Linked DNA regions of Homo sapiens: region 1 is linked to region 2. Evidence: promoter capture Hi-C in human tissues and cell types (Jung and others, 2019). All regions are on one chromosome and are shown on one strand. The core of a region is centred on a gene start or on the middle of the fragment in contact, and the rest is flanking DNA. Distances in the headings are between cores, read along the strand shown. Region 1 overlaps PGPEP1L (pyroglutamyl-peptidase I like). Region 2 holds the start of IGF1R (insulin like growth factor 1 receptor).

Region 1 (3,262 bases), core at 327-2,826, 350 kb after region 2:
CCACGGCGCCCAGTCCCATCGACCACCCCAAGGGCTGAGGAGTGCGGGCACATGGCACAGGACTGGCAGGCAGCTCCACCTACGGCCCCAGTGCGGGATCCACAGGGTAAAGCCAGCTGGGCTCCTGAGTCTGGTGGGGATGGAGAACCTTTATTTCTAGCTAAGGGATTGTAAATACACCAATCGGCACTCTGTATCTAGCTCAAGGTTTGTAAACACACCAATCAGCACCCTGTGTCTAGCTCAGGGTTTGTGAATGCACCAATCGACGCTCTGTATCTAGCTACTCTGGTGGGGACTTGGAGAACCTTTGTATCCACACTCTGTATCTAACTAATCTAGTGGGGAACTTTTGTGTCTAACTCAGGGATTATAAACACACCAATCAGCACCCTGTCAAAATGGACCAATCAGTTCTCTGTAAAATGGACCAATCAGCAGGATGTGGGTGGGGCCAGATAAGAGAAAAAAAAGCAGGCTGCGGGAGCCAACAGTGGCAACCCACTCGGGTCCCCTTCCACACTGTGGAAGCTTTGTTCTTTCGCTCTTTACAATCAATCTTGCTGCTGCTCATTCTTTGGGTCCACACTGCCTTTATGAGCTGTAACTCACCACAAAGGTCTCCAGTTTCACTCCTGAAACCAGCGAGACCACGAACCCACTGGGAGGAATGAACTCCAGACACGCTGCCTTAAGAGCTGTAACACTCACTCCAAAGGTCCGCAGCTTCACTCCTGAGCCAGCAAGACCATGAACCCACCAGAAGGAAGAAACTCTGAACACATCCAAACATCAGTCAAGAAATAAACTCTGGACACGCCGCCTTTAAGAACTGTAACACTCACCACGAGAGTCCGCGGCTTCATTCTTGAAGTCAGTGAGACCAACAACCCACCAATTCTGGACACACTACCACGTGGCTCAACCTTGAAAACATGCTAAATGAAAGAAGCCAGAGGCAAAGGACCACATGTAAAATGATTCCATTTATATGAAATGTCAGAAGAGGCACATCTATAGGGACAAAGTATATTAGTGGTTGCCAGAAGCTGGGTATGTGTGTTGTGGGGGGACGTGAGTGGTGAAAGCTAAGGGGTGTGGGGTTTCTTTCTGGGGTGCTGAAAATGTTCTAAAATTGACTGTAGTGATGAATATGTAACTTCGTGACTATACTGAGCCACTGAATGTTACTCGCTTTAAATGAGTAAATGGTATAGCATGTGGATTATATCTCAATGAAGTAGTTTAAAAACTTTTTATAATGGACTATTGATACATACAACCTGGATGAACCTTAAATTACTCCAAGTGAAAAAGAACCAATCTCAAAAGGACATGTACTGTATGATTTCATTTATATATTTGTGTTTTTTATTTTTGCTTGTTTGCTTTTTGAGACAGAGTCTCACCCTGTCACGTAGGCTGGAGTGCAGTGGTGTGATCTCAGCTCACTGCAACCTCCGCCTCCTGGGTTCAAGCAATTCTCCTGCCTCAGCCTCCTAAGTAGCTGGGGTTACAGGTGCCCATCACCATGCCCAGCTAATTTTTGTATTTTTAGTAGAGATGGGGTTTCACTATGTTGGCCAGGCTGGTCTCGAACTCCTGCCCTAAGTGATCCACCCCTCTGGGCTTCTCAAAGTGCTGGGATTATAGGCATAAGCCATCGCACCTGGCCCTATTTTTATTTTCAGACAGGATCTCACTCTGTCATGCAGGCTGGAGTGTAGTACCACGATCATAGCTTACTGCAGCTTCCATCTCCTGGGCTCAAGTGATCCTTCCACGTCAGCCTCCCGAGTAGCTGGGACCACAGGTGCATGCCACCATGTCTGATTAATTTTTTGTATTTTTGCCAGGTTTCCCAGGCTGCCCTCGAACTCCTGGTCTCAGGTGATCTGCCCATCTCAACCTCCCAAAGTGCTGGGATTACAGGTGTGAGTCATTGTACCCAGCCTACATAAAATATTTGTAAAATAAAATGATTATACAGATGGAGAACAGACTAATGGTTGCCAGGTGTTTGAGATGGGAGGAAGCGGGTGGGTGTGGCTGTAAAGAGCTAGCACGAGTGAGCTTTGTGGTGATGGTACTGCTAGGTATCTTGATTGTGGTGGTGGTGATAGGAAGCTACACTAGCTGAAATTACACACACACACGCACACATACTGCAAGCACAAATTTTGAATTATACCAATGTCAATATCCTGGCTTTTATATTGAAAATGTTAATATGTCAATATCAGGAGAGGCTGGGTAAAGGGTACAGGGAACCTCTGTACACTTCTTGGCAAATTCCTATATTTATTTCAAAATAAAAAGTTTTAAAAAGTGTGTGGCCTCCTGTGTGGGAGACTAGCCAGTGCCAGATATGCCTGTGATGGAGTCAGGTGCTCAATTAAGTGGGCTGCAGATACAAGTGGAATTCTCTAACTCAGCTTTATCCCGGAGTACAGCTGAGGTTTTCAGTTCCACCTCTGATTCCTGTGACATTTCCACCTCTGATTCCTGTGACATATTTCTCAAGTCATTCATATTCTTTGATGAGGAAAGGGCTGTGACTAAATGTCAGTCTCTGAGAACCCAGCTCCCTGGACCTCAGGCCTTTAGACTAGGAACCAGTTCTGGAGAGAAACTTGAATTATACCTTTGCAATTCCTGAACATCTGGGTCTAGACCCACAAACAGGGTTGGCTCATGAGGAAGTAAAAACTTTCTGAGGGAATGAAACAGTTTTGGACAGAACGTCCCAAAAAGCCCATGGTGTCCTCTGATTCAACCAAATCCTTCAGAATAAATAAGACTTTAGCTGCCCTTGGAAACAGCCAGAAAAAAAAAAGGGCAGTTATAGAAAATAGTGAGATTAAAAAAAAAAAAAAGCACTGAGAAGCCAGGTACCTCCTGGGATAATAAAAATACAATAAAAATGCAGCAACACACACAAAAATCACATTCTGCTTTAGAATCATATTTGTATCAGCAAATATGACATCTCTTATCTGTTTTAAATTAGAAAAATCAACTCTGCAAGTGAAGGTTTGAAGCTCTTGTGTTTCAAGTTCAAACCTCACTTTAAACTTGGTCAGCCCCCAGTGCAACTTGCAAACGGAGCTGGAGAAATCTTAGAATTCTGAGAGGCCCGTGGGAGGGATGCACGTTTTCTCACTCTTGTGGTTATCGTTGGTGCCAGTCTGAACACTTTGATCTCGAAGCAATTTGTCGGAGCCCTCGTTCTCCCACCATCTGTCTACATGCCAATTGTCTT
Region 2 (3,421 bases), core at 442-2,941:
ATTTTAGAATTAGAGAGTAAAAGAAACCTACTACCTTCCTTTACATCAGGTCCCTTCTACCATCCTACCCGATTGTTTGAGACAACCACTTCTTATCTCGACAATTCACAACTCTTTTATTAGCTATCTTAAAAAAATTTATTACTGGCATCAATTAGCCTGAGTCATGAAACCGGACCACATTAAGGGCGACACATGGTCCAATCACTGTTTGTAAAAGTCCACGTATTTCAAACTCCTCTCTCCTGCCACTGCTGGGCTGTTTCCCTCTTTGAGGACCTGGTCTCCGCAGCATTTATTCATTAGATGGCAGTCCTAGGGGAGTCTCGCTTTGGGGAAACCTCTCCTCCTGCACATTCAAGAAAACAACCGCGGAGACTTAGGGTCGGTACTGGTTTCCAGTCACTTACGTAGCAAACGAAGCAAGAGGAACGTGCCTGGGAGGACCCGAGACAGGTGCGGGTGGGTTTCCGCAGTAGCCGCTGATCCCGAGTGCATGCGGCGTGTTCCCGGGTCGGGACCGCGGCCAAGGGAGGCTTCCCGGCCCCAGCCTCCACCCCCTCCTCGGCGCCCCGGGACCCGGACACGCCCCCCGAGCTTCGGAGACCCGCAGCGTGCACGCGCCCCGGCCGCTCCCCGCAGCCGCCCACGTGGTGGAGCCCTGAGCTGCGCGAGGCCGCGGAGAGCGCTCAGGGCGGGCGGCTGGTCCGGGAGGCCACGCCAGCGCGACCCAGCCGAGTCGGCCCCCAGCCCGGGCCCCCACATTTCCTCCCCCGGAGGGAGGGAGGCGACTCTCCGCGGGCTGCCCTCCCCAGCGCCCGCCGCGCCCTCTGGCGGCCGCCGCGGGGACGCGCCCGGGGCACGCGGCGCTGCCTGTCTGGGCCCCCCTTCCGGGGCGCGGGGCCCGCGAGGGGCGGCGGGGTCCTCTCTCCTCGAGCCACTCTGGGCCGAGCCACACGGGCCGCGCCCTTCCCCCTCCGCTCCCCCTGAGCCCCCAAACTCCGGGCTCCACGGTCGCAACGCCGCGGGCACCCCAGCCTGGCGTGAAAGTGCCCGGCGTAGTAGCCTGGGGGGGGGGTCCCCTTTCTCCCAGGTGCGCCCCTTCCGCCACGTTCGGGCTTTCCAGTACGCAGCGAAAAAAATGCCGCATGCACGCATTTATTTATTTTGCAACAGCTGCAAGAAACAATGAAGCTTTTCAAGAACCGGGGAAACGCGCTTTCCAGCCGCGCTGTTGTTGTTTTCAATGAACCTCTCCCAGCCCCGCACTCCCCGCCCACCCCTCCCCTCTCCTGCCCACCCCTCCCCTGCCTAGCCTTTCCCTGGCTACCCACCCCTGCCCCGCCGAGACCGGACCGGCGGCGGGGGCATTGTTTTTGGAGTCGGGCGGGAGGGGAGGGCGCGTGCGGGGTGGCCGGCGCAGTGCGGTGGGGGCGGGAGCGGGTGGGCACGCGCGCGTGTCTCTGTGTGCGCGCGGGAGGCGGTGGGGCGGGAGATGGGGGCGGCGCCTCGCAGTCTCGCGCCCCACGCCCGGGCTCCGCTCCGCACGTCTTGGGGAACCGGGCTCCGGTTTTTTGCGCGCGCCGGCCTGGGCCGGGCCCTCGGCGCGCCGCTGCTGCGGCGGTGGCCGCTCGAGTGTGCGAGCGGGCGCGTGTGCGCGGGCCAGGGCGCGCGCGCGCGCGCGAGCCCCCAGTGTGTGGCAGCGGCGGCGGCGGCGCGGCGAGGCTGGGGCTCTTGTTTACCAGCATTAACTCCGCTGAGCGGAAAAAAAAAGGGAAAAAACCCGAGGAGGAGCGAGCGCACCAGGCGAACTCGAGAGAGGCGGGAGAGCGAGAGGGACGCCGCCAGCGAGCCTGCCCACGGCCGGCGCTCGCAGACCCTCGGCCCCGCTCCCCGGATCCCCCCGCGCCCTCCACGCCCCTCCCGCGCGGGGGCAGCTCCACGGCGCGCCTCGCCTCGGCTGTGACCTTCAGCGAGCCGGAGCCCCCGCGCAGAGCAGGCGGCGGCGGGCGGGGGCCGGGCGGGGGCCGGCGCGGGGCGGGCGGCGGCGCAGAGCCGGGCGGCGCGGCGGGAGTGCTGAGCGCGGCGCGGCCGGCCCGCCGCTTTGTGTGTGTCCTGGATTTGGGAAGGAGCTCGCCGCGGCGGCGGCGGCGCTGAGGGAGGAGGCGGCGGCGAGCGGAGCCAGGAGGAGGAGGAGGAGGGGGAGCCGCTCATTCATTTTGACTCCGCGTTTCTGCCCCTCGCCGGCCTCGCCTGTGACCCGGACTTCGGGGCGATCTTGCGAACTGCGTCGCGCCCTCCCGCGGCGGAAGCTCGGGCGTCCGGCCGCCTCCCGCGCGGCCAGGGCCGGGCTTGTTTTTCCTCGCCTAGGCAGATTTGGGCTTTGCCCCCTTTCTTTGCAGTTTTCCCCCCTTCCTGCCTCTCCGGGTTTGAAAATGGAGGCCGACGACGCCGACAGCCCGCCCCGGCGCGCCTCGGGTTCCCGACTCCGCCGAGCCCTGGGCCGCTGCTGCCGGCGCTGAGGGGCCGCCCCGCGCCGCCCGCCCCGTCCGCGCACCCGGAGGGCCCCGGCGGCGCCGCCTTCGGAGTATTGTTTCCTTCGCCCTTGTTTTTGGAGGGGGAGCGAAGACTGAGTTTGAGACTTGTTTCCTTTCATTTCCTTTTTTTCTTTTCTTTTCTTTTTTTTTTTTTTTTTTTTTTTTGAGAAAGGGGAATTTCATCCCAAATAAAAGGAATGAAGTCTGGCTCCGGAGGAGGGTCCCCGACCTCGCTGTGGGGGCTCCTGTTTCTCTCCGCCGCGCTCTCGCTCTGGCCGACGAGTGGAGAAAGTGAGTATGTGCCCGCCGCCCGCGGCCACTGCGGGAACTTTTCCTCCGAGGGGCTGCGCCCTGTTTGCGAAACCCGAGTTGCCACCGTCGCAGCTGTCGGGCCCCCGGGCTCGGGAGCGGCGGGGTGGGGCGCAGGGCGGCTCTGCCGGGAGGGAGGCTGCAGCGGACCCGGGACCCGGGCTCGTTCGTCTGGAGCCCCGCGGGCCCTGGCTCCGCGCATCCCCGCGCGGGAAGGGCTTTTCTCTTTCTCCGTCCTGACAGCCCAGCCGTGTTTCCCGGCTAGGCGCGAGGACTCGGTAGGGAAGTTGGTGCCGGGGCGGGCTCCGCGGTTCCCGGGCCCCGCGACCCGCACCTCGCCCCTTCCATGCGCAAGAGCCTCTCCGCACACAGCGCTGATCCCCTGCGGCGCGCAGGCAGCAGCGACAGCACCCTGGGCCGCACCGCGTCTCCGCTGCTGGGGCTGACCGGGCAGTGGGGAGCGGGCAGCCGCCCGGCCCGCGGGGTGCGAGTTGCCCTCGAGGGGGGAGGTGCCCTGCGGAGAGGCCCCGAAGCCCCAGGACACGTCTCCAAGCGCCCGTCGCTGCCTCCCGTCG

Evidence for each region. The method cuts DNA at HindIII sites, captures the fragments that hold promoters and counts their contacts. A contact is called where the count stands out against the background at its distance.
Region 1: a fragment that was not itself captured here is called in contact with the fragment with the promoter of IGF1R in region 2 in 1 of the 25 tissues and cell types used here (mesendoderm cells).

Annotation. Positions count from the first base shown.
Region 1 is chr15:99,000,342-99,003,603 of GRCh38, forward strand. All of the region lies in intron 2 of PGPEP1L (pyroglutamyl-peptidase I like), which reads right to left. Among named protein-coding and RNA genes, the nearest start is that of PGPEP1L, 5.8 kb to the right of the region's middle. The HindIII fragment of the contact is 3,326 bases long and covers 1-3,239 here.
Region 2 is chr15:98,646,848-98,650,268 of GRCh38, forward strand. IGF1R (insulin like growth factor 1 receptor) reads left to right here and starts at 1,692. Exons shown (of 21, transcript NM_000875.5): 1 at 1,692-2,828. The coding sequence starts at 2,735. It overlaps IRAIN (IGF1R antisense imprinted non-protein coding RNA), which reads right to left. Exons shown (of 1, transcript NR_126453.2): 1 at 1-3,421. RefSeq lists an enhancer at 1-415 and silencers at 427-476, 487-956, 1,017-1,076, 1,447-1,716. The HindIII fragment of the contact is 5,713 bases long and covers 1-3,421 here.